Regions from separate parts of the Homo sapiens genome. Here regions 2, 3, 4 and 5 are each linked to region 1. The links are contacts of gene promoters, found by promoter capture Hi-C in blood cells and fetal thymus (Javierre and others, 2016). All regions are on one chromosome and are shown on one strand. Each heading gives the region's core, a stretch centred on a gene start or on the middle of the fragment in contact. The rest is flanking DNA. Distances are from core to core; before and after follow the strand shown.

Evidence for each region. The method cuts DNA at HindIII sites, captures the fragments that hold promoters and counts their contacts. A CHiCAGO score of 5 or more calls a contact.
Region 2: a fragment that was not itself captured here is called in contact with the fragment with the promoter of ZNHIT6 in region 1 in 3 of 17 cell types (total B cells, endothelial precursors and naive B cells); the score reaches 9.3 in total B cells.
Region 3: a contact is called between a fragment that was not itself captured here and the fragment with the promoter of ZNHIT6 in region 1, in 1 of 17 cell types (naive B cells). The highest score is 5.1, in naive B cells.
Region 4: a contact is called between a fragment that was not itself captured here and the fragment with the promoter of ZNHIT6 in region 1, in 1 of 17 cell types (endothelial precursors). The highest score is 5.8, in endothelial precursors.
Region 5: a fragment that was not itself captured here is called in contact with the fragment with the promoter of ZNHIT6 in region 1 in 1 of 17 cell types (total B cells); the score reaches 5.5 in total B cells.

Annotation. Positions count from the first base shown.
Region 1 is chr1:85,707,183-85,713,062 of GRCh38, forward strand. It overlaps ZNHIT6 (zinc finger HIT-type containing 6), which reads right to left and starts at 1,251. Exons shown (of 10, transcript NM_017953.4): 1 at 447-1,251. The coding sequence starts at 1,102. RefSeq lists enhancers at 508-1,341, 1,044-1,403, 1,342-2,174. The HindIII fragment of the contact is 1,595 bases long and covers 23-1,617 here.
Region 2 is chr1:85,301,758-85,306,997 of GRCh38, forward strand. No RefSeq gene overlaps it. Among named protein-coding and RNA genes, the nearest start is that of BCL10, 28 kb to the left of the region's middle. The HindIII fragment of the contact is 3,059 bases long and covers 391-3,449 here.
Region 3 is chr1:85,327,147-85,332,588 of GRCh38, forward strand. The region is part of intron 4 of DDAH1 (dimethylarginine dimethylaminohydrolase 1); the gene reads right to left. Among named protein-coding and RNA genes, the nearest start is that of BCL10, 53 kb to the left of the region's middle. RefSeq lists enhancers at 949-1,118, 1,594-2,172. The HindIII fragment of the contact is 531 bases long and covers 1,799-2,329 here.
Region 4 is chr1:85,250,097-85,255,734 of GRCh38, forward strand. C1orf52 (chromosome 1 open reading frame 52) reads right to left here. Exons shown (of 3, transcript NM_198077.4): 3 at 1-2,606. The coding sequence ends at 2,533. Among named protein-coding and RNA genes, the nearest start is that of C1orf52, 6.7 kb to the right of the region's middle. The HindIII fragment of the contact is 2,205 bases long and covers 2,927-5,131 here.
Region 5 is chr1:85,283,230-85,288,634 of GRCh38, forward strand. No RefSeq gene overlaps it. Among named protein-coding and RNA genes, the nearest start is that of BCL10, 9.3 kb to the left of the region's middle. The HindIII fragment of the contact is 4,829 bases long and covers 1,741-5,405 here.

The DNA of each region.
Region 1 (5,880 bases), core at 1-2,500:
ATATTCACAGCACCCATGAAGAAGCTTGATAATTGAGGTCAAGTGTATTTTTGCCTAGTTTTAACTTAATCTACTTTGTCATTGTTAGTTTTATTAGACTTTCTCATCTCTATTCTCTCTCAAAGGAATACCGAGTAAAGAGCATATTAAGTCAAGCCAGATCCAGTTCCAACTGATCTTTTGGTCCCCAGAATTTCCACTTTCCTAACTTGACCATTACCCATTGGACACTACTAATTTCATGTATTTTCACTGAATTTGTTGTGTTGTCATGTACAACACCCTCCACTTCCCAACCCACCCCCGCGAACGCCGTCTGACTCCAGAAACCCAAACTTGTGCTCATTTTTCATTATTCCACCTTCTCCTGATAGTGTGGTTTCCTTCACTCTAGACATGAGGACTCCACAGCTTTATTCCCCTAAATGGAATCCCCCATGCCCTACCTTGACATGGCCAGTTTCCGCTTGCAGCCCACCGGGTGATTTATCGGAGGCTCTTCTTTCACCTTTGTATCATCCACGATTTCTTTCTTCAGGAAATCCTTCTCTTCTTTTACACACTCTCCATGCATCAATTCCTCTTTTATGCATTGACCAACAAACTTCTCCTCCTGTTTTATCTCCAAGTTATCCTTCTCTTCCTTCACTTCTGACCAGTCCATTACCTCTTCCTTTACCTTCTCTTCCTTTACCTCTGGTTCACCCACCTTCGCTTCTTTTACCACTAAACTACTATCCGTCTCCTGCTTCACCTCCAATACGCCTGCGTTCTCATCCTTCACCTCAGGCCTATCCTCCACCTCCTGTTCTACCCACTGGCCAGCCAACCTGCCTTCTGTACCTGGCCAGTCTATAATTTCCTGCTTCACTACCGTTAGGTCCATCGGTATTTCCTCTGGCCTTTGTCCACTTCCTTCCTCTCCATCCCCTATCTCCTTTATCCCTGTCAGCCCTGTCCCCTCCTCTCCGCCGCCGAACTCCTCCGCCCCTGCTAAGTCCCTTACTCCCTCCCTGCCAGGCTCTGGACTTAGCCGCACCCCCTCAGCTACGCTGTGGAGACCTCCCCCAGACTTCCCTTCATTTTCAGCAGCAAACTCCATCAACTCACGATCCTTGGCCTCTGCTGCCACTCTATCCTTCAATGTGGCTGCTGCACACCAATAGGAGGAATTACCGGTCGGAATACCTACGGCGGCCCACGTGTGGAGCCAAGCAGCCACAAACCCGGAATAGCCTGCTTGACGCGACTGCTCGAATCGCCGTAAAGCTACGCTTTTGCGCCTCGCCCCTTCACGACTTGTAGAGCTCTTTACGGCTCTGCGGAGGCCCTGCCGGATTCTCTGGGCGAACAAGCGTAACTGCGTGACTTGCCCGCTGGGGTTCTCGTCTCCTTCCTGGTTTCCACCACCCTCTTCCCTTAGAGAAGCCTCCTGGGCCACTCCCTGGGCCACCCTCCACGCCCTGCTGGGTGTAAAGAGTGTAGGAGACCGGCAGAGGGAGAGAAGCGAAACCCTTACACTCTGGAAGTGGGAAAACCCACCCTAATCTGTGTTAACCATTAAATCCAATCTTGCATGAAAATGGAGGACACACCTGATGTTATTAGGCCTTTCCAAGCTTTAGTTTCTTAAAGCTATAAACTAGGGACCATGGTATTATTAATATAAATCTCCCAGTGTCATTGCAAAGATTATATGAGATCATGCATGGAAATCAACTAGCAGTGACGGACACAAACTCGATATATAACTGGGAATCCTGATGGGCTTCAAACCGCCTGGTTTCCACCACCCCCTTCCCTTAGGGAAGCCTCCTGGGCCACACCCTAGGCCACCCTCCACGCCCTACTGGGTGTAAACAGTGGAGGAGACCGGCAGAGGGAGAGAAGCGAAACCCTTACACTCTGGAAATGGGAAAACCCACCCTTATCTGTGTTAACCATTAAATCCAATCTTGTATGAAAAAGGACACACCTGATGTTACACCTTTGCAAGCTTTAGTTTCTTGAAGCTATAAACTAGGGAGCATGGTATTATTAATATAAATCTCCCAGTGTCATTGCGAAGATAATATGAGATCATGCATAGGAATCAACTGTCAGTGACAGACACAAACTCAGTGTATAACTGGGAATCATGATGGGTTTCAAGTAGGAAAGAGGGCATTAATTTTTCTTTCCATTCTTTCTAAGTAACAGCCTGCGTCAGGCTATTCCCCATTCCCAGCATTCTGCAGGATTCTCTCAGAGAACATCATAAATATATTAGGCGAAAGTGCCTAATGCCCGGTATTGCTGAATAACATTGCATTGTATGAATGTGGCACGTTTTTTCATGCATGTACCAGTTGGTGGGCATTTGGCTTGTTTCCAGTTTGGGCTATTACGAATAATTCTGCTTCCACATTCATATGCAAGTCTTTGTGTGGACATGTTTACATTTCCCGTTAAGTAAATAACTAGGAGTGGAATTGCTGGGCCATATAAATTTATGTTAATTTTTAAAGAAATGCCCAAACTGTTTTCCAAAGTAGCTATACCATTTTACATTCCTACTGGCTGAGGGTTCCTATTTCTCTACATCCCGGCCAATTCTTAGTATTATCAGTTATTTGATTATAGATGTGTAGGGGTACGTCATTGAGAATTTACATTTCTTTAATGACTAATGATGTTGAACATCTTTTCATCTGCCAACTGGCCATTTGGATATTTTCTTTAATGAAATGTTTATTCAGATCTTTTGCCCATTTTTAATTGACGTCTTTTATTATCAAATTGTAGTAGTTCTTCATATATTATGGATATAGGTTTGTGGTAGACAAGCACCAGTATGTTCCCCAGTGATTCTCCACCCCCACAGTGTTCAGACCAATGTGTAGACTGCTCCTGCATCATCCCAGGATTGGTCTGTGTCACTGATAGCATACAGCAGAAGTAATACGTTACCTCTAAGATTAGGTTTGGAGAAAGGCTGTGGTTTCTGCCTTAGGCTCTTGCTTTTTTGGTCTCCTTCCTAGATCATTCACTCTGGGGGAAGCAAGCTGCCAGGTTGTGAGTACCAAGAGGCCCATGTGGTAGTGGGCCGAAGTTACTGGCTCTTACAGGCTGAATTGTGTCCCCTCAAATTCGTGTGTTAAATCCGTAACACCCAGTACCTTAGACTGTGAGTATATTTGGAGATAGGACCTTTAAAGGTGATTTCGTTAAAATGAGACCATTAAGGTCGGCCCTAATCCAATCTGACTGATATCTTTATAAGAAGAGGAAATTTGGACACAAAAAGAGACACGAGGGATGCCTGCAGAGAGAAAAGACTATACGATGATACAGTGAGGTGGCCACCTGCATGCCAGCGAGAGAGGCCTCAGAAAAAAACAAGACTGGTGACAACTTATTTTGGAGTTCTAGCGTCTAGAACTGTGAGAAAATAAATTTAAGTCACTCAGTCTATGCTAGTTCATTATAGTGGCCTTGGCAAACGAATGCACTGGCCAACAATCAGCAAGGAATTTCAGCCTGTCAATAGCATATGAATGTGTTTGGAGGAAGATTCTCTAGTCTTAGTCCAGCTTTACATGACTGCGGCTCTGGCCAACAACTGAACCCAGATTCCGGACACTCAGAAATTGTGGGAGGGGATAAATGTTTCTTGTTTTAAACTGCCAAATTTCTGGATAATTGATACAAAGCAATGCATAATTAATACCAATTCCTTGTATGGTTCGCAAATATTTTCTCCCAGTTTGTGGCTTTTCCTTTTCTTAGTTGTATCTTTAAAAGAGCAAAAATTTTACACTTCAATTAAATCCAGTTTATCAATTTTTATTTTTATTTTTTGTGATGGAGTCTCGCTCTTGTCACCCAGGCTGGAGTGCAATGGCGGGATCTCTGCTCACTGCAACCTCCGCCTTCTGGGTTCAAGTGATTCTCCTGCCTCAGCCTCCCGAGTAGCTGGGACTACAGGCAGGTGCCACCACACCTGACTAATTATTTTTGTATTTTTATTAGAGATGGAGTTTCACCATGTTGGCCAGGCTGGTCTCGAACTCCTGACCTCAGGTAATCCACCCACCTCCCAAAGTGCTGGGATTACAGGAGTGAGCCACTGCACCCAGCCTCTCAATTTTTAAATGAATGGTGCTTTTTGTGTCACACTAATAACTTTTTGCCTAGCCCAAGGTTGCAAAGAGATATTTCTCCTATATTTTCTAGAAGTTTTATAGTTTTAGCTTTTACATTTAGGTCTGTGATCCATTTTGAGTTGGCTTTTGTATCTAGAGTCATCCCTCTGTTTCTGTGGGGATTGGTTCCAGGACCACCACAGATCTGAGAACGCTCAAGTCCTACAATCTGCCATCTGCATCCATGGTTCCACATCTGTAGGTTCCACCAGCTGTGGAAATTTGATCCATGGTTGGTGGAACCCACATGTGGCAGAACTAAGGATATCATCCATAAGGTGGACAAGGTAATGGTTTAAGTTTCTTTTTTTTAATATGGATATCTTATTGTCCAAGCACCAGTTGTTGAAGCCTATTCTTTTTCCTTGAATTGCCTTGATATTTAAAAAAATCAATTGACCACAAAGATAAAGATTTATTTCTGGACCTTATATTCTGTTTTACTGATCTATATGTCTATCCTTACACAAATACCATACTCTATTATAACTTTATAGTAAGTCCAACTTTCTTTTCTTTTGAAAATTGTGTTGGCTATTCTTGGTTGTTTGCATCTCTGTGTATTTAGTGCCAGCTTGTCAATTTCTACAAAAGAACTTGTGGGATTTTCATAGGGATTGTGTGGAATATATAGATAAGTGAGGGGAGGATTGTCATCTTAACAACATTGTGTCTTATCCATGAAAACGGAATGCCATCCATTTATTTATATTGTCTTTAACTTCACTTAACAATGCTTTGTAGTTTTCAGTGTACAAGTTTTTACATATCTTTTGCTAAATTTATTCCTAAGCATTTTATTCTTGATGTGGTTTTTGTTTTTTTTTAAATTGACACAGGGTCTCCCTCTGTCACCCAGGCTGGAGTACAGTGGCAAAATCATGGCTCACTGCAGCCTCGACCTCCTGAGTTGAAGCTATTCTCCCACCTCAACCTCCCAAGTAGCTGGGACCACAGGCGCATGCCACCATGCCCAGCTAAATTTTTTTTGGTATTTTTTGTAGAGATGGGGTTTTGCCATGTTGCCCAGGATGGTCTCAAACTCCTGGGCTCAAGGGATCCGCCCACCTCAGCTTCTCAAAGTGCTGAAATTACAGGCGTGAGCCACCACACCTGGCCTTGATGTGATTTTGAATGAAATTACTCATTTAATTTCATTTTGGATTTTTCATTGCTAGGTTGCAGAAATACAATTGATTTTTGTATTTTGATTTCATATCCTGCAACCTTAATAAACTCAAATGTTTTATAATATCTCTATATAATTGTATTCAATTAACTTACATTTTGTTTAGGAGTTTTCGTCTATGAAGGATGTTTATTTATCTGTAGTTCTTTTTTCTTGTAATGTTAGGTTTTGTTATCAGAGTTTTCTGCATACCTTTTAACTTTTATGTTTCCCATCTCTTTATTGCTTCCAGATACTTTCTGGGAGAGTTCCCCAAGTAATTTCTACCTTACTATTTTGGTATTTGATGGTATGCAATCTGTTAGTCAACCTATCCACTAAGCTCATTTCAGTCACTATGTTTTTCATAACCATTGTCTGTAGCTTATTTTGCTTCATATTTCTAATATCCCTTTTTATCTCTCTGAAGGTAGTCCTTTAACTCGTTTTATTTATTTATTTTTTTGAGATGGAGTCTCGCTCTGGTTGTCCAGTCTGGAGGGCAATGGTGCTATCTTGGCTCACTGC
Region 2 (5,240 bases), core at 670-3,169, 400 kb before region 1:
TTCTTGATCATTATCCTATGGTCATGTAAGATGTTTTCATTAGTGGAACGTGATGAGGGATATATATAACTCTTTGTACTATTTTTGCAACTCTTCTGCAAGTCTCAGACAAGTTCAAAATAAAATTTTTTTACAAAAGCCTGACATGTTCTTTTAATATGCATCCTGGTTTTTGCAAATATAAGGTCAACCACAAATAAGCAGCTCCTCCAGCAAGAACTAAATCTGTATTTTCTTTAAACAACCAGTGAGGGTTTTAGTTCATCTTTCCTCATTGCTGGCTGTCCTGAGGGATGGATCATGATCACTTTCTCCTGATACCACGCATGGCCCCACATCACGCTCGTGGTCACCGTCATCATTGTCATACACACTGGTTTTCTGATAAAAAGCTTTCAGACACAGTTCCCTAATAGGCAGGGTTTCCTAGGTATTTTACTTCCCATTCCTACCCCTTCTATCACTCCTCTCCCAACCCCCAGGCACAGGGCTGGTTCCCCTGCCTTCCAGTCTTTCCCTTTCCTGGGTCCTCAGGTCACTCACTGCCCAGTTCCAATCTGCCCAAGGTCAAGGAGGGTTTGGGAGACAGCAGCCACTGCACTCCAAATGGCAGTGGGTAGTATGAGCACCTGTGTCCAGGCTCCAACAAGGAAAGCCTTCTGATCTGATCTCTGCATCCACTTTCCAGCCAGCAGCATGTGCAGGGGTTTGCAGCAGCCTGGACTCTGAATTGTGCCACCTCAGAGTAAGGGCAGCCCCACTCATCCTTCAGCAGATGGGAAGGAGGGGAGTGGAGGCCTAAGGAGCAAGGTTGGTTTGTAGCTGAGGACAATTCTGGCAGGGGGAAATCCATTTTCATTCCAACCCTGGATTGTGGTATTACTGTGTCTCTGCTTCCATCTTCAAGTAGCTCCTAGCTGTTGCATCCTGGCTGTGCTCCCCATGGCCTACCCACTCTTTGAGGGGGAGGCTAGGAGGTATGCAGAGGCTGTGATTGTGAGAAAAGCCTGGGACAGTACATGAGCTCATTCCGGATGGGGAGAGAGACTATAATCTTTTCTCAATAAAGTTTTGTTGCATGAATGAATGAGTGGTGAAAGAAGGCAGTTCCATTTAGTCAGTCTTCCTAAATCAGTTTTTCCAAATCCATGGGCTTTTTGACGTACTCAAACTCCCCGTTTGCTACAGTTTGGGAAGTGGCCCGGGGATGCCGAGAGAGAGAGAGAGAGAGAGAGAGAGAGAGAGAGAGAGAAAGAGAGGTCTGTTTTTTAAAGAGCCTTTGCAGTCCCTGGGTTTTCAGAGGGATGTTCCATGAAGAAACTGGCCAAGCAGGGCCAACACTTGTCTTTCCTTTAGAGTGTCTAACTCTTGGTGTTTGCTGCCAGAACTGTTGTTGTTTTGAAGACCTCAAAATGTACAATTCTTATTATTCATTCAGTCAATATTCAAATCAATATTTATTGAGCTCCTTCTGTGTGCCAGGCCATGTGATGGTGAGCAAGCCAGGATACAACGGTGAGAAAGCTGGGTCTTGTTTTTCCCAGGAATGAGCTGTCCCACGGTTGCACACTGGATCTTTGGCCAGATCAAGCTCAGGCCAGTCCTCTGCATTGGCCTGAACTTGATCCCAGCAATCTGGGGATGAGAGAGGGTCTCTCTGCCCTTTCTCATGGGAGTGGCTCACCTCCCCTTGCACCTCAGCCCAGAAATTGCATCTGAGCCTCAGAATTTTATGTTTTTTTCCCCTGAAACCCTGAAAACCAGTCCCATGTCCTCTCAGAGAAGCCCTCAAGATTTCTCTGGATTTGGTAACATGCTGACTGGGATTCTAGCCAGAGGATTCTCATTCTTGGACCTGGATTTTAGACTCATTTTGGACAATTGGCAAATGGGCACGTGTTATGCTGCTTTAATGCAAAGAGCAAACAATATCGATGTTTATAAAATCCTAAAGGAAAAACTCCAAGATATGTGAGCATCCCAGGGTGAGGGGAACTGGGAAGCCTGGTTCCTTGTGGTTTCGCCAACCCCATGGGATTGCCTTTGTCTTCCTGGCTGAAGCTGCTTTACCAGGACCAGGTCTGGGTTTCTGCATATTGGGAGATAGGAAATGAGAGGAAGGGCATGTGGCTTCTGTTTTAAGGATGTGTCCTATAAACTGTTCATGTCATTTCCGTTCACATCTCATTGGCTAGAACTTACTCCTGTGACTATAAATTAGCTTTAAGGGAGGCTGGGAAATGTAGTCTTCAGCTGAGTGGCCAAGTGCATGGTAAAATTTCAAGAACCTATTACTAAAAGGAAGAAGGGGAGAGTGGATATAGCTGGACAATGACCAATTTTGATCACACACTCCTTTAGCCCCTTTTCACATGGCCCAGACTGTTGTGTCCTTACATTATTGGCCTTCAGACCTCATACCTCATTCCCATGTTCCCTGACCTGGTGGCTCTCTCTGGAGTCCTAGACCTGGGCTACTTTGGATTGTTCCTTTTTTTCCCTCTCCCTCTAACTCCTTGTAAGTAACTTGCTTAGGGAGGGGCCCTTCTGAGGGGAGGGGGTGTCACCAAAAGAGAAATAAGATGTTGACAGCCAAGGCCAGGGACATCAAGGCCAGACCCACTTACTCTATAGATCTCTGCAGGCCCCCTCTTTACTTCAGCTGAGTGTGGATGAATAAAACCAAGCATGGTGACGCTGCTGAGACACTTCAGGTCTCATGGTCAGGAGGGACAGCATCTGTGGATGAGCACTTGAGGGAGGGTCTAAGTATACGCTGGCATCTCTGCCCACCAGGAACCATGATTTCATCTTCCTCATCTTTTTCCTCTTCCTGCTTCACTTCCTCACCTGCAGCCTCTCCAACATCACTGTAATCATTACAACTGTTAGAACTGTACCATTGAGCACCACCAGGGCCAGATATCCCACATGCATCTTCTGTTTTTAGCCCCGACTCCAATCCCAGGAGGTAGGTATTATTGTCTCTATCTTTTGAGAAACTGAAGCACAGAATGGTAAGGACCTACTTCATACTGTTGTTGTAAGGATTAAATGGGATAATTCACATAAAAACATCTGGCTCAGTGCCTGGCAAACAGAAAGTACTCAATAACTATATTAGCCTTTATTGCTGTAACAGAGAAGAAAACCAAGGTTTAGAGAGGAATGGAGATTTGTCAGTGTTGGCTCCAGAATTCACATAGAGGAGGGGTTTATCGTGGTGACGGGGTGGTGGGGGCACTGCTCAGGGAATTGCCTTGATGCTGTGTTTGCATGAAAAGCACACATATTAACTTAGATTGTGATAAAAAATACCAAAAAATTCTCATATGGTTATATTTATACTTTACATAAGTGTGAGAACTGTCCATCACGATAATGATTATTATCATCACTTGGGACAGCTTGGGAACTCATGGAGGTCACAGCTGTTTAACATCCCTCCAAGCTTCCCTTTGGTGCTACCACAGTAATGGGCCAAGCAAGTAAATGACAGAGCCAGGATTTGAGAGCAGCTCTGATTCTAGGTCCCACATCTTCATTGCTACCCAGTACGGTCTCTGTGAGCTGGCAGAAAACTTGGCTAACCAGAGGTTTGCTTTTCCCTCCCACCTGAGGAGCTGGGGGTTGCTGTGCTCCCTAAGCTTCTGTGAAAGCTCTGTACCTACCCAACAGCTTCTCTTCACTTGCCTGTGACTCTCCGTGGGGCCTTCGTTATTTTATTTTATTTTATTTTTTTGAGACAGAATCTCGCTCTGTCACCCAGGCTGGAGTGCAGTGGCGCGATCTTGGCTTACTGCAACGTCTGCCTCCAGGGTTCAAGCGATTCCTCTACCTCAGCCTCCCAAGTAGCTGGGACTACAGGCACGCACCACCACGCCTGGCTAATTTTTTGTATTTTAGTAGAGACGGGGTTTCACCATGTTGGCCAGGATGGTCTTGCTCTTCTGACCATATGATCTGCCCACCTCAGCCTCCCAAAGTGCTGGAATTACAGGCATGAACTACCGCACCTGGCCCATTGTTAATATTTTTACAAGCAAAACTGAGGCACAGAAACCCAAAAGGTAGATTTCTCTTTCTTGCATTTTCTGAGCAGCAGAGACTTTTTAGTAGGTAAGTACAATTAAGTCGAGCCGGATCTCTTCACTCTGCTCCAGATTGTTCTGGAAACCTGTCTCCCAGCATTAGGGCAGCTCTCCAGTCAGCCCAGCAGGCTTGCTAGGTGTGACAGAGTCCACCTAATCAGAACTTTTTTTTTCTTGTTTTTACCTCCAGTAGGAAGAAATCAGAACTTTCATCCTCCCCTGGAAGGGCCCAAGGTGCTGTCATAGTCTCCTGACAGACAGCAGTAATTGTACAGCCTTCCTGGCTTTCCCCCCAAGGAGTCCTATTGGTTTTGACAGTTTCTGGATAACTGTGGTGACAGGCAGCAAGATTGGAATTTTACAAAGGTTTCTCAAATCTGTTTGAAGAGAATATCAGGATACCAGTTTGTAAAAGCCTGTCTCTGATCCTGACCACAGGTAAGAGTAACTCTTAGTTAGCTCCAAATGAGAATCTGAGCCCGCCCCATCTCTGGGGAGACAGCTGGCTGGCTTCATTCTCTCCCTCACTGATGGGTCTATTCATCTCTGGGTCACCAAATATTTACTGAGCACCAACTATGTGTCAAACATCATACTTAGCACTGGGGATGCAGTGACCTACTTGGCTCCTAACTCTAGGAGCTCACTGTCCTCTATAAAGGACATAGATGTATAATGAGACAACTACTATATGGCTTGGTGCAATCTCGGCTCACTGCAACCTCCGCCTCCCGGATTCAAGTGATCCACCTGCCTCAGCCTCCCAACTAACTGAGATTACAAGTGTGCACCACCATGGCCGACTGCTTTTTGCATTTTTAGTAGAGACAGGGTTTCGCCATGTTGCTAGGCTGGTCTCGAACTCCTGACCTCAAGTGATCCACCTGCCTTGGCCTCCCAAAGTGCTGAGATTACAGGCATGAGCCACTGTGCCTGGCCTGTATTTTCTTTATATTGGACCCAGGTATGTGCATTTGTTCATTTGTCCATTTTTGCAGTTTTAAAACATCCTGAGCACTTACCATTTCCTGTGTTAGTTCTTGTGCTAGATACCAGGATCTTGTGCTAGAAAAGGCTGTTTCTGCCCTCAGCCTCTACTGTCTAGTGGGAGAGCAGCCTGGCACAAGCAACCAGAAGGTAGCGTGGCCG
Region 3 (5,442 bases), core at 814-3,313, 380 kb before region 1:
ACCAGCCTGGGCAACATGGCGAAACCCTGTCTCTACAAAAAAATTAGCTGGGTGTGGTGGCACACACCTGTAGTCACCTCCTCAGGAGGCTGAGGTGGGAAGATCATAGAGGTTGCCACCAGCCGAGATAGTGCCACTGCACTCCAGCCTGAGCCACAGATAATCTGTCTTGGAGTCTAATCCTTAGTCTTAAAAACCATAAAAGACTAGACCTACCATATTCTCACAATTACTTCTTCAGCTTCCTTCTTTCTAAGGCCTACGTTAACATGTAATCTAGTAGTGTTGCAGGCTTAGCATCCCTTCTACCTAGATCCCCTAGAGAGATAATTGCTACAAAGTTCCCAAAGTTTTTGGAATAAGGACAAATTTTACTATGAGTTTTTGTGCAGTTTTGCTCTCTTCAACCAGACTGCTACCTCCTTGAATGCAGGTCCAGGCATAATGAGGTGGACAGAGCATGGGCTTCAGAGTCAGAAAGGTCTGGGTCTGAAGCCTTGCTCAGCCACACACTAATTGTGTGACTTTGGGAAAGTCACATATGCCCTGTGAGCCTCAATTCCCTCAGCAGTAAAATGGGATGGGAATGCTATACCTATCCTCCACAGGGTAACTCTGAAGATTATTTAAAAAAAACCCCAAAACAGATAATGTACATAAAATGCTTAGCACAAGCTTCTAGCAGATATTAAATGTGTAATAAAAGTCGGTTCACTTCCCTCTTTGTTTCTTGCAAGTCACTTGACATATAGCAGGTGACCAAAATATGTTTGCACTAACTGGTTCATTTCTTCATTCCTTTCACCTTTTTAAACGCTACAGAGAACCTCAGGAGGGCACTGTGATGAACTGTGTGGTCAATCACATGGGTAAACAATTGAATTCCCTCAGAGAAACAAGGTATGGTCTATGTCCAGAAACAGAAATACAACTCATTATTTTTAATGTGAAAAAACATGGCTAAAATCAACAAGGCCAAGGTTTGTCTGTTTTTCAAAGCCATACAGAAGGGCACTATACTCTGTGGTCCTAACTCAAATGACTCTGGATGACAAAGTAAGACAACAGGGGGTTGGATCTGGAATTACCTGCAGAGTATGTGGCACCTAAGGGCATTCACAGAAAGAAAGAAAAGAAAAACTTTTGTGTATATCAAACCGAACACATAAGCCTCTGTCAGGTTGTGACCCCAATTTAGTAAAATAGTCCATAAACCCAATGGGCAGATTGACTTCTTCATAGTAGAGTGGGGCTGCCTCGATATGCAAGGTGGCAGTTAGGATTTGTGAAACTTCTAGACAATAGCTTTTGGTCAGTCTCACAAACGTGCTTTTTTCCAGGTGCAGGGAATGGGATTCCACTATGTCTAAATCTCTGTTTATTATGTGCTGTTGAGGGTGGACCAAGATGGCCAGTCTGCTCATGTTTGCAGTCAGAACTGGACGGTCATCCTGTCACATGAATTGGACCTAGTTTACCCAAGAAGTTCAGAATTTCTTCCAGACAACTGGGGAGGCAGTTCTCTGAGCCAGAGGTTTACTAAGTAGGACCCCAGTGGTTTGAGGACCTCAGAGAGATCCTTAGAACATGTATACACAACCACTGCTACCTGGTCAACCTAGACACAAACAAAACAAAATCTAGAAAATCTATTACTCACATTGACTTACTTTTCTAAGCAATTGGGAAAACTGTGTGTGGCATATTTTGGCCCACACATTCAGGCTAAGTGCTCCCACCACTCATAATCACCAGATAACTGCCAGTTGGCTTTCCATTTTAATTTGTGATCTGCAGAAGCTTCATTGTACTCTTTACCCACAGATAAATAAATCACCCATGTCTCTTAGTACCAGATGAATTGAAAGAGAAAGAAACATGGCAAGACTACATCTCTTAGGCCTGACTTTATTCACTGGATCTAGCGGTCTGGGCAAATTCCCCACCTCTCAGTGTGACTCATGCATGTCCGGAGGTGACTACAAAGCAAAAGCATGGAATGTCATACATTCCAGAGGAAGTGTTCTCAGGGATTGTTATCAGTGCTGACTTCTTGTTTACCAGTGAGGAAACAAACTAAAATCTCCAAGGTTGTGCCCATCTCAGAAAGTACCACGTGTCACTGAAGTGACAGGGCCTGTCCAGTTGACTTCAGCTGTTTCCATGCTCTGCCCTATCCCCCAACCTCACCTCCTTGAGTGAACAATCCTCTCCCCTACTTGGTTCCTATTTGAATTGTTCTTCAGTTACTGGCATGTATTTGAAATTGTAATCACTCTTCATTCTTTAATGCTTCTTCCTTTTCTGAGCCTTATTTTTTATCATTTAAAGCTTCTGGTGGGGACATTCCTATACTTACTAACATAAAGGCCAGTACCTACTTTAGAATTATTTGAGGACAGTTTCAATTTTTCATTACTGGGAGGAAAGGAATTATAATATCTTTAGTGGGGAAATAATTTAATGCTGAGAATATATGAAGTAATTCATTGATAAATTCTACTGAGAGTTACTCTTAAAATAAATGTCTTAACAAAACCCCAACAAAGCTACCTTAGGAGAAGCTTTTCAATTAATTTATCAAGACTCCACGGTTATCATTTTAAGACAGATTTAAGAATATGCCCAAAGAAATGACTTTTAATAATGAACAGGCCCCATTTGGAGCAGTGAGTAGTTCTGCTTAACTGAAAAAAATTACAAAAGTTATGTCAGGTGTAGCCTTTCTAAATAAAAGGGATGTATGAAGTGGTAACTGTAGATAACAAACAAGAAATATGCTTTTCCCCCTTGAAAATGCTAAAGGTGCTTATTATAAACACAAAGAGATTTTGTCTTTCGAGGCAAAGAACAGATTTCTCCTTTCCTGTTGGAGTAATTATTTTCCTTTCTCTTGTATGTTGTTATTGTCTGAATAAGCTTACCATTTATTTGTAGCTGGGTTTAGGAGACACATGTATGTACACAAGACAGGGTGCTGGCCATTCAGCAGGGAACATGCAGAGAAAGATGCAGGAAGGCTGTGTTGCTCTTGAACATCTTTCCCTTTTTACACCCTAATGGGCACTGTGAGGATGTGTTAACACATCCTGTCTGGTAGGGTATCACCTCAAAGAGCTCAGGCTCCTGAGGACTGAGCAACAGTGAGGCCAAGGAACAGGTTCTGTTTCCCCTTTGTGGATGCACAGAGGCTTTGTTAAAAGATGAGCACCATTTCAAATATCCCGAGAATGCAGCTGTTGGGCCGTTTAGTTCTGTTCCAACATTTTTTCCTAAAAAAGCATGGAGGAGGTGGTACTGCTCCAGTGCTGTATGTAGTGTTTTTCCAACCCCAGGGACTGTACTTCCTGCTTCTCACTGTGTCTCAAGCCAGAATGGAAAGGAGACACACCTAAACCCTCCACACGTCACCACAAATTCCTTTCCCTAAGAGCAGATTACTTGATATCCTGAGAGGCCCCAGACTCAACTCTGAATGATACAAATGAGTTCTACAGGATTTGGGGGAAAGATCTGAGAAGTCAAGTTGCTGTTCCGAATGCCCTTTCTGAATTTTGCCAAAGGAATGATTCCACTTTATGGAAACTAATTTGAGTGATTATTATGGGGATTAGATCAATTGGTGGTCAGCTCTGTTCAACAATCTTTTATGGTACGCCCCCTTCGGGCTCAGCACAATGGCAGTGTGAGGTGGGAAAGGGAAAGAGATGCCTTCAGGAGATGAAAAGCTATCATTTAAGGCAGGACAAGCACATGAAGAGTATGCTAGCAGTAAAAAGACAGTCAACCTCACTTTTATCATAGGCAACTCCTTAACGAAGAAGGCACGCAGCTGTAGGGAGGAAATAGCTCTGAGAATCATTGTGGCCACACTGTCATGGTCTGTTATGCAGCTGCTGGTTGGAGGAATTGGCCTTGTTCCCCAGGGTGGAGCTGTCACAAAATAGAGTGGGAACTGTCTGGCTTTCAGCCCAAGAGAATCTGCATGGCAAGTTGCATTAACAACCAGGCATTTCCGGCAGTTCCCAACATTTCTGGGAATTTTCTCATCCAAACGACTGAAAGCCCACTCCATTCTCTTGCTTCTTACTCATGCTTTCTTTGTATAATGGTAATTATGTTTTAAAAAATCCTGGGCTATGTTGTTTCATGGAACAATTTAGAACTTATTGGTCAAACTCTGAAGCAAAGGTATATAAAAGGTAGTTAGAGATGTTTAGGGAATATTCAAAGCACATTTTTGGGTCACTCATAATTGATCTTTATATTCATATATGTATATATATATATATAACATAATGTACCCATCTTAACATATCAAAGCTAAACCAGTATTAAAAACAACTGACTATGGTCTATTGATACAATATATGATGCCCAAGTACACTCTTCATTGCTACTGCATATCTAAAATCATTTATTTATTTATCCATCCATCAAGAGTGTATTGAGAGCCTGACAACATACCAGCATCAAGCCCTGGAGGTCTTTTTAAGGCTGAGCCAATATAGCTATGGATAACATTCTAAAACTGATAGCATATTTTCATGTTTTATAGTCTTTCCACAGACTAGTTCAAAATGAACACTGCCTGAGAGGGGCTTTAAGATGACTGACTAGAGGTACTGGACACCTGTTTCCCCAGCAAAGAAGAGCCAAAATAGCAAGTAGATAATCATACTTTGAATAGACATCTAAGAGAGAATGCTGGAATTCAGCAGAGAAGTGACAGAAAACACCTGAGATACTGAAGGAGAGGGAGGCAAGGTAGACAGCCTGGCTGGAATCAGCTGGGAGCCCAGAGAGGGTCCCTAGTGAGAGGAAAGGGTAAGTGAGAGATTCCCAGTGGTACATGTTCCCATGTTGACTGCTGAAATCCTAGTCATAAGAGTCTCTCAAACCCCAAGGACCCTGAAACTGGTATTCCCGGGGTCCGTGTGGCAGCATTGCTCCAGAGATGGAGCCCACTCGGGTCCCATGTACCCACTTAGTTCTGGACAGATAGAGAGCCAGTTAGAAAGCCCATTTCCCACCAGACTGCATTGTGCCCTGGGACCCAGCAACCCCTGTATCTTCACATCCCTGGAGCCCCACTAACAGAGGGCTGCAGGGTGCAATGCAGGTTGGACACAGTAGAGTGGCAGGGTCTCCAGAACTCTAGCCCACACATTGTACTGCACACTGGGGAGGGTGATCCTGGGACAAAGGGAGCTGAAGCATGTGTTTCCCAGAGCATGAAACCTGATTTCCTGGGGCCACTGTCAATGAAATAAAACCCTGTTCCCACAGTAGAAGGGCTGCTTCACACTAGCATGTGTCCTGAGGTCAGGCTGCCACCATTGTCATAGCCACCTGAGCAAACCGTCTGGGGCTTGGAAATTGCTCTGCCTTGTTCACCACAGCCTGGGCCCATGGGCCCCATGGGGGGCCTGAGAATAGGCC
Region 4 (5,638 bases), core at 2,779-5,278, 450 kb before region 1:
ATGGTTTTTAAAACCATCAGATCTCGTAAGACTCATTCACTATCATAAGAACAGCACCGGAAAGACCCACCCCCATAATTCAGTCACCACCCATGACACGTGGGAATTGTGGGAATTACAATTCAAGTGAGATTTGGTTGGGGACACAGCCAAACCAGATCAGGATCTCAACATGTTGCCCAGGCTTAACTTAAAGTGCAGGAAACAATCAGAAGTATCAAGTGACTCGATTCTCTAAAATGAAAGATACTTGGACAGATGATTTTTCTTATGTATATGGATTTTTAAGACTTTTCCCCACTAGGTTTCCACTAGCTCAACCAAACTTCACCTCAGTACCCACATGGACACTTGTGCAAACACGTTCCCAGGACATCTCTAAAGGGGAAAATAATCTATTCTCTAATGTGATGATGAATGTAGAGTGATATGACAGTCCGTTTTCCAACCAGGAGATACAAATGGCTGAGTCAGACTTGCTCCAAAATATTTAGCCTCTTCCCTAAGTCCTGTCTTCCTCCTCATACAACATACTCTGCACATCTCCCAGGAAAGAGAGAAAAAAGTTTGCTTTCATGCTAACTTAAGAACCTTGCAATATTTCAGTAACTTCTGAGATATTTGCTCCACCAACACATGCATCCAAATTTTAGATTTCTCCAGAGCTTGGGAATCACAACTTCACAAATATAACTTGATTTGGTTGTGTTTGGTGTCATGTACATACTATGGTCTTGCTTTGTCACTTGATGCCACTCCTTAGTATATGATACCACAGATTTCCAAATTCATTACAAAGACTACAATCTTAAAAAAACATATTCTTGCTTTAGCAATTACTTCAATTTTGGGATTCATATATTTGCAAACCTGGAGGATGGGCAGCTATAGAATTGGTTTTTCTAAACTCGATGATATACTGGAAGCCATCATGCTGTTATGGACCTTCATTCCACAAAGCACCATGGCTGATGCAATCACTCTTAATGACTTTTATGAATTTTAATCTACTTGATACACATGCCTAGGTAAACAAATCTCGCGTAATTGTTCAAATTTTATCTTCCACAATGGGGAAAAACAGATTTAAAAAAAAATACTTAGATTATGTCTTTTTCTTTCTAAATTATTTTTTGTAAAGATGAGGTCTTATCATGTTGTCTAGGCTGGTCTCCAACTCTTGGCCTCAAGCTATCCTCCCACCTTGGCCTCCCAAAGTGCTGGGATTACAAGCATAAGCCACCATGCTTGGCTGTCTTGTTCTTATACACTGAATGTGCACTGTTCTGTAATTCTTATCTCTTAAGGGCTTCAGATTCATGGAAAGATTGATGCAGAGTGTAACCTTTTTATTGTTCAAAATGCTACAAATAACTGCATTTTGGAACTCAACGATCACACCTTCCCAACTACTTCTTGTTCATTTTATTATTACTATACGCAAAGCATTAAAATAGAAGCTGGGTAGAGAAAACATGTAGAAGTAGGGTTACCAGATAAAAGATGTTCAGTTAAATTTGAATTTCAGATAAACACATTTTTTGTATATGTCCTGAATATTAAATATACTAAAACATTATTTATCTGAAATTCAAATTTAACTGAATGTCCTGTAAACTTACAATTTAATAAAGAAATTAATGAATAACCATAAAGCACAGATGACAAGTACAGTCATCCAATCAGGAGAGGAAAAGATCTCTACTAACGGATCTCCAGGTACAACAGAAAAAAGTACCTGGAAGAGATGACAATTGATGTCATTCCTGAAAGATGACTAAATTTTGACTGGTGGACAGGTGGTTTAATGTGATGATTTTGAGGTTCAAGTGTCCCAAGTTAAATTCCAAATGAACCACTCACTAGCTGTGTAACATCAGACAAGCTACTCAAGCACTCTTTATTATAAAATGAGAATACTAATAATACCTTGCGCTAGGTTGTTTAAGGATCAGAGAAAATATATGCACAAAGCACCTGGAACACAGGAGGCACTCTTTAAATGGTAATACTTCTTATTACAACTTAAAATGTCACACGACAAATAGGGTACTTGTCACAGACAAACATTCAAATGTTAATGTTATACAGTAATAGTAATATTGAATAAGTAATTTTATTTCCATGATCTATTTACACTGTACAAAGACTGTTGAAAAGCACCCTACAAGTTCACAGTACATTACAATATATTTACTTTAAAAATATATTCCTTTATAAAAGGTTTATAAGAACATTGGCATGTCAACATGTGACAAAACTCTCAAAGCATGTCACCAATTCTGTGAGAGCAAGAATGCATCCAAGTGTTATCAATTTCACAATCACAAGTCACCAGTTGAGTTTTAAATACATACATGTTTTAAATAAAAAAAGAATTCTATAGTGGAAAGTTCTTGAGGCAATACTTATTAGTTCATTAACGTATGCATTTTCATGGAGATGTGGCATAATAACCCACAATATCAACTTAATCTGTCCAAAGAAACATTTCAACAAGTTTAGCAGTACAGAAATTCTGGTCATTTGTTTCTACTTTTTCTTCTTTGCTGGTTCTCCTGGCTCTACTTTGCGCTTTTTAGAAGTATGCTCATCTTTTTCATCATCTTTAAATAGAAAAGGAAGAGTTTCAATCAGTAATTTTAAAAAACCCAACATGTTAAGCATTAAAATTTCACTGGCTTTATACCAAAATTATTACCCTCATCAATTAATGTTTCTCTCAGAGTTTCCCAATAAAAAACAAGAATTAACTTTTAGAGCTCTGATTTTTAAATGCAAGTGAAAGTGAGCAATTTTTTTTTTCAATTGCAGCCATACAAAATTCACAAAGTAACTCTTTAGGTGCTATACTAAGGTAGCTTAAAATAAGTGACTTTACTTCCCCCAAATCAGACTTTTGAAAAAGGCTCCCAAATACTCAGCAAGCTTGTCCAACCTGCCTTATTTGTTGTTGTTGTTCTGTTTTGTTTTAGGCTTTTAGCAGCCTGAAGCCATGGTTTTTAGTTTCTGTCTCTAGTGATAAGCAGAAAAGAAGGATGATGAAGGGGCTTTATTGGCCCAACCAATAACAGAAACTAAGAACTCATGACTGTATTCTCTCCCTTGGACACCACTGCATGATAGTATTTACATTGTATATATTAAAATACAATCAATGCTTTGTAAGAATGGAGCATATTGTTTTCTTTTTACAAAAAATAGGTATCACTCTAACGATGACATTATTTAAGTGGCTATCAGCTGTCCTTTTCCTTTCAATCTGCTTTCTCTCCTCCAAAAACAACTTCTTCTGCCCCATCACCTTCTCCACCCACCCCAAATCCTTATTTTGAGGTTAAAAAGCACTCACAAGTAGGTTTCCCCAAACCTCTATTTGGAATTTTATTCTAGTAAGTTCTAATTCCCATCCCCGCCCTCCCCATCCCCACTCCCACGATGGCCAGAACATTTTAATGGCAACAGAAAAATACATATCTTCCTACTTCATATTATGGAGAATTTGGAGAGGGGAGGGAGGTTAGAGAAGAGCCTTACATTAAAACAATGTTCTTTACACCTTTCCAAAATGTTAATAGTATCTGTAGCCACAGAAAATTTCCAATTCATAAAAATGTTGTCAAACCTGGAAAAGTGAACTCTTTTATTGTATTTTAAAAAATCCAACTACATGGTTAAAAAAAAAATACAGGGTAGCACAGACTAGTTGCTAATTCCATCTCCCTAAGCAAATGTGTGGTATTAAGAACTCCATATAGACAGAGTAACATGGAAAAGATGTTATGATTTATAAAATACAAATTTATTTTGAGCACATTACTAATTAATTGTAGCTTTTGACTTTATTTTCTTGATCAACAGATACTCAAAAAGTTCAACAGGTTATCATGTGGAGATCTATAAAATATCTTGATATTGAAAGGAGCCTTCATTATTAAAAAATGTGAGGAACTACTGACATCAAATCATAAATTCCTTGAAGGAAATATTAAAATCTTAAGCCTTCAATTCCCTTCTGCTGACTGTACCATAATCAGAATATCTCATTTATTGATGCAGATAACAATCAATACCATTCATCTTCACTCCCCTTCAAGCACAGCACGGTGATGTTATTCATATGCTTCACAGAGCACTATGGATTTATGTAGGCAGTGGAATAAAATACAATTCAGATCAACTCACCCCAGGAATTTACAAATCAAAGTTTTAATCAGTAGTTCATCATGTTCATACAAAAACACTGGCTCCACAAACCAAATAACATGGTATACCACCAAAACAAGCCAAACGTTTTGCTTTTTTTTTTTTTTGAGATGGAGTCTTGCTCTGTTGCCCAGGATGGAGTGCAGTGGCACCATCTCAGCTCATTGTAATCTCCACCTCCCAGGTTCACGCCATTCTCCTGCCTCAGCCTCCCAAGCAGCTGGGACTACAGGTGCCTGCCATCACACCCAGCTAATTTTTTGTATTTTTAGTAGAGACGGGGTTTCACGGTGTTAACCAGGATGGTCTCTATCTCCTGACCTCGTGATCCACCCACCTCGGCCTCCCAAAGTGCTGGGATTACAGGCGTGAGCCACCGCACCCGGCACCTTTTGCTTTTTAACGAGTTAATTATCACTAAGCTCCTCTTTTGAGATTTTCAGTAGTGATAATATAAAAATGGAAAGTACTAAGTTTACTATAATATTCACTATGCATTAGCATACATTTAGATGATACTGAGATATTTTTGCTTTTAATTTGCCACTTATTACAAGTAAATTAACTGAATAACAAAACCACAAACTACTGAAGTTAAAAAGTAACTGGCTATCAGTGATTTGAGCAGAAGTGCTATGCCATCTAGTGTCATGACAAGGCATTGCTTTATAAACTAGAGTAGGAAAAAATCTGAGCAATGTTCATTTATCAATTTTACTGAGCTTTTTTACTCGGTCTCATATAGTATAGATGTACTGGTAAGGAAACAATTTTTTTATTATGGAACTCAAATCACTCAAGTAAGTTTAACTTATCAATAGACAAACTTTCTAAATTCTAAAAAGTGTAAACTAAAAATCACTATATTAATTATGCTTTTACAATTAATTATTATACATGTCAATAAAGCTACAACTAATAACTAAGCTTTGCTTACCTACATTTTACAACCACTAAAACCAGAAGTGGCAGGGTGCGGTGGCTCACACCTGTAATCCCAGCACTTTGGGAGGCTGAAGCGGGCGGATCACGAGGTCAGGAGATCGAGACCACCCTGGCCAACATGCTGAAACCCCATCTCCACTAAAAATACAAAAATTAGCTGGGCGTGGTGGCGTGTGCCTGTAGTCCCAGCTACTTGGCAGGCTGAGGCAGGAGAATCGCTTGAACCCGGGAGGCGGAGGTTGCAGTGAGCCGAGATCACACCACTGCACTCCAGCCTGGGCGACAGAGCGAGACTCCATCTCAAAAAAAAAAAAAAACCCGAAGGGCTGATAAGCAGCAAGACCCAATGATGAGTTCTGAACCTTTCCCAGCCCTTCCTCTAAAGTAACTGGAAGACGTTAACCGGCAATAAAAGGCCAAAGGGCAGAATGGGGAAGCAAAATAAAAAAGTCACTTGCTAATCTAAAATCTGGGTAAGAGTGTAGAG
Region 5 (5,405 bases), core at 2,905-5,404, 420 kb before region 1:
AGTGCTGGGATTACAGGCGTGAGCCACCGCGCCCGGCCAGGCCAGTGTTCTTAATTACTAGCTGTAGACTGAGCTAAGTGCTTCAGGACATAATGATTCAGAGAAGCTAGGATGCTTGAGCATTCTCTGAATCATTATATCCTGAGCCTCACAAATGATGTATCTGCTCCAGCTTAGGATCCATGAAGGGCACTGTGCAACAATGAGAGTAGCTGAAGACTGGCAATGTTAACTAATGCAAGTCTCAGAAAGAGGAAGATGATATTTGCAAACTCCAGGTGGGGTTCGATGGCAAGCATAATTCCAGAAAATAACTTTTTTTTTTTGAGACAGGGTCTTGCTCTGTTGCCCAGGCTGGAGTTCAGTGTTGCAATCTTGGTGATGGCGTGGGTGGCCCTTCTGGAGTGGCTGCTATCATGACACTGGCTGCAGTGGGGGAGGCGTGGCCAGGGCTGCGAGCTCTACAGGGCTGGGAGGAGCCGGGAACTGTGGAAGCCCTGCCCACTTCCAAGTTGGCAGGGCGGGAGCCTTGTGCTCCCTGGGTGCAGCTGCAGCTGCCCAGGCACAGCTCCAGACCTGGACATCCCTGTGCTCTTGGGGGCCAGAATCAGGCAGGAGCCCTGCCCTCTCAGGCACAGCTGCAGCCATCCAGCCATGGCTGTGGACCCGGGCATCTCTTGGGGGCCAGGGAAGCCTCCCTGCCCCTGCAGGCTCAGAAGTACCTGCTCCTGTTGCCTGGTCTCTCCCCACTCCCGGTGCCGACTCTGATTTTGGAGCAAAGTTGAGGCCAAGCCCAGGCCCTCTTGCAACCCAGCCAGGTGTATGCATGCTCAGAGCAGCACTGACATGCCAGACCCCTGCCGCCTTGGCTCCCCTCCAGGCTTTGGGCACTGACGAGCACAGGAGGGAGGCTGAGGGAGCACTGAGGGTGGCTCAGCATGGGCCTGCAGGAGCCCCTCAACACAAATAGCTTGGGCAGTGGCAGGAGGCAGACAAGCTCCTGGGCAGAAAGGGGCAGGTCCCTGGTGAAGCCTCACCTTCAAGCCAGGGATGGCCTAAAGCCTGGTGGTGGGGCTGATGGGCCAGAATGGGAACTTATGGTGCTATTTTCAGGCCCACCCATTGCCACCCGTGAACCAATCAGCATGTACTTCCTCCCCTCTGAAGCCCATAAAAACCCCTGGACTCAGCCAGACTCCGATGACCAGATGACCTGCCTTTGGAGAGGAGCTACCTGCTCCAGGATCTCCTCTCTGCTGAGAGCTGGGCATAAGTTGGGACTACCAGCTGCAGAGAGGAGCTGCCCACTCTAGGGTCTCCTCTGCTGAGAGCTGAACACTGTTGGGACAACCTGCCTGTGGAGAGGAGCTGCCTACTCTAGGGTCTCCTCTGCTGAGAGCTGAACACTATTGGGACAACCTGCCTGTGGAGAGGAGCTACCCACTGTGGTTTCCTCTAAGCTGTTCTGTCACTCAATCAAACTCCTCTTTGACTTGCTCACCCTCCACTTGTCTGCGTACCTCATTCTTCCTAGACACAGGACAAGAACTTGGGATGCGCTGAATGCCTGGGCTAAAAGAGCTATAACACAAATGGGTCTGAAATACACCCCTTGCTTACCACGTTGTGGGCAACAAGAAGGAGAGAGAGCTGCAGCCCTTCTGGGAGCCCAGACCTAGGAGCTCCCCAAGCCAGGGCTGTAACACCCTCTCTGGGGCTCTGTGGTTCCCGGCATCTCCAAGCTTCCAAGTTCCACTGCGTTCCTCAGTGCCAGCCATGGAAGCTGCTTGTGGTCCACCTGGTCCAGCCACAGCCTCACAGGGAGCTGGCGCCTGTGCTGGTGCTTGGAACTGCCTGCCCCACCACAGCCAGTGTGCCTGGCTGTGCTCAGTGGCCGGGCACCATGCTTGCTCACTCACACACCCCTTGCTGCTCTGTGCCTGGCTCTCCCTTGGCAGGCATGAGATTCAGGCCAGTAGTGCAAGCTGAGCACAGCCTGCCAGGCTGATTGGGTGGAACAAGCCCAGCGGGCCTAAGTAAAAACTCAGGGAAAAGCGCCACTGGCCACACAGGTTTCCGGCTGGTGAAGTGACACCCACAGGATCCCATGACATCAGCTCACTGCAGCCTCAACCTCCTGGACTCAAGTGATCCTCCCACCTCAGCCTCCCAAGGTGCTGGGACTACAGGCATGCACCACCATGCCCAGCTAATTTTTGTATTTTTTTGTAGAGATGGGGTTTCACCATATTGCCCAGGCTAGTCTTGAACTCCTGGGCTCAAGTGATCCACCTGCCTTGGTCCCCCAAAATGCTGGGATTACAGGCATGAGCCACTGTGCCCAGCCTCAGAAAAGAATATTAAAGGAGTAGCTCTTGAAAGCCTAGAGTGGGAACATCTAGGCTTTCAAGAGCTACTCCTTTAATATTCTTTGAGGGTGACATCCCTCAAAATCAATCATTTCCCTTCCCATTCCCATGACTGGAGTCAGTGGTTCTCAGTCTAGGCTATTTAATAGAATCACTTGGGAATGGACATCCAAGTCCCACCTAGATCAATTTAAAAAATTCTTTGGAAAAATCCAAAGTGAAGGGAGGAGGATGTGTGCCTGCTAGCTATAAGTACTGAGCTGTTACTTCCACCATCGTCTCTATTGCTTTCCAAAGCCCAGCCCTCTCACTGGGGAGAAGCCATGGTTTTAGTGTATGTGCCAGAGAATTTCCTCCATTTAAAGGAGGTATTTGCTGCTAAGGGGACACTGTATATAGAAAGACCAAGAATGGAATATGAATAAGAAGAGGTGCCTTCACTCTCAAAGATCACAGAAGCAAACAGAGCTATGTCTTGGAAATATGAAGGAAAGGCCTGTATTCCAGACTAGCCCCAAGGGTGTGGGGTCAGAGAAAATTTCTTCAAGCAGTTCTGGAGGCTGAAAGTCCAAGATCAAAGCACCGGCATTTGGTGTCTGGTGAGGGCTGCGCTCTGCTTCCAAGATGATGCCTTATTGCTGCATTCTTCAGAGAGGAGAAATGCTAAGTTTTCATATGGTGGAAGGTAGAAAAAGAGCAAGAGGAATGAATTCGTTACATGAAGCCATTTTATAAAAGCACTAATTCTATTCCTAAGGGAGGGGCCCTCATGGCCTAATCACTTTTTAAAAGCCCCACCTCTTAATACTGTCATATTGGCAACACCTGAATTTTGAAGATACCCATTCAAACCATAACACTTGTTTTATATATATTTAAATTGTTCTTTAATAAAATATTTTACCTAACAAAAATTCTGTGGAAGCCAAAGCAGTGGTAGTTATTATCTTTGTGATAACAGTTTTATTGAGATATAATATACATACCATACAATTTAAGTATACGTTTATACATATACAATTTAAAGTATACAATTCAGTGGTTTTAAGTATATTCACAGAGTTCTACAACCATCACCACAATCAATTTCAGAATATTTCATCACTCCAAAAAGATAGTTGTATCTGTAGCCACCACCCCTAATCCTCTCATCTTTCTTATCCCTAGACAACCATTAGTCTACTTTCTATTGCTATAGATTTGCCATACTGAACATTTAATATAAATGGAATGATAACAATATATGGCCTTTTGTGTCTGGCTTCTTTCACTTAACAATGTTTTCAAGGTTCATCCATGCTGTAGCACAAATCAGTACTTCATTTCTTTTTATGGCTGAATAATATTCCATTGTATAAATATGTCACATTTTGTTTATGCAATCATCAATTGAGAGAGATTTGGATTAATTCCACATATTTTTGGCCATTATGAATAATGCTATTCATATGGCTATATGGCTGTTATGAATAATATTATAAAAATTCATTTGCAAATTGGGACATCTAGTTCCTCCCCCAGTATTCGCCAGCTGGTATATAGGGATGTGGCCTTCAGACATTTGAACTTGGGTCTTCATTTCTCTTGGGTATATACCTAGGAGTGAAATGACTGGGTCGCGTGGTAACGATATTTAATTTCTCGAGGAGCAGTGGTAGTTTTAAAACTTCCCAGTTGATTCTAATGCAGATCCAGGGCTGAAAAGCAGTGATCTCAACGAATGGTGAAACTCAGAAACGCACACTCTTGACAGCTTCAGGGAGACATTTACAGGGTCCTTCTTAAGCCTTGGGGGTCCATGTGGAACAATGAGATTGGTTCGCAACTGGCTTTCCTGCCATACCCAAGACACAGTGATTGCCATCAGTATGCAGGGAAATGTATCTTAATGCTCTGCTCTCACCTCTATTTGATTCAACATTTATAATAATGACTTGTGGGATGAATATCTGGAACAGGGGTTTTCAAATGTTTTTCTAACTGTGCAACCCTTTCTTCCAATAAAATTCTCTGTGGAAACTAAACTCAAGGCTCTGTCTACCGGGTCTGTAGAAGTTTTCTGTCTTGCCCACCCACCCTGCCCCACTACTTCTGAGTCCTTCCTCAAAGCACCAAGGGCTTTATAGAGCATTGTTTGAAAGCCACTTATCCAGAAAGTATTTTTATTAATTTGTGGATAACCCCAAACTGAAAATATAAAATGATTTTTAAAAAATTAATTTTATTTTATTTTAAGTTCCAGGATACATGTGCCAGATGTGTAGGTTTGTCACATAGGTAGACATGTGCCATGGTGGTTTGCTGCACCTATTGACCTATCACCTAGGTTATAAAAAAATTTTAATGTCAGAGTCAATATAAGGTAAACAAAACAAAACAAAACAAAACCTAAACTTCTCTAGAGTGAGCTGCATTGGGAAGTAATGTTTTCTTTCCTGCAAGGTATTCAAGCAAGCACAACCCAAACTATATATGTGTGTGTGTGTGTGTGTGTGTGTGTGTGTGTTTTGTGGTGAGGGAGTCATAGAAGGTAATTAAAAAATGAGAAGGTGGCTGGGCATGGTGGCTCATGCCTGTAATCCCAGTGCTTTGGGAGGCCAAGGCAGGAGAATCACCTGAGGCCAGGAGTTTGAGACCAGCCTGGGCAACATAATGAGACCCTGTCTGCACCTGTAGTCCTAGCTACTTGGGAGGCTGAAGCAGGAAGGTTCCTTGAGCCCAGGAGTTAAAGGCTACCGTGATTATGATTGCGCCACTGCACTCCTGCCTGGGTGACAGGGCAAGACTCTGTCTCTTAAAAAACCCCTCAAAAGCCAGAAGGTGATGTGATTGGTCTAGTGATTTTTATTTTTCTTTGAGACGAGGTCTCACTCCATCACCCAGGCTGGAGTGCAGTGGTGTGAATAAGGCTCACTGCAGCCTTGACCTCCTGGGCTCCAGTGATTCTCCTGCCTTAGCCTCCCATGTAGCTGGGACCACAGGTGCACACCACCATGCCCAGGTAATTTTTTTGATTTTTTGTAGAGATGGGGGTCT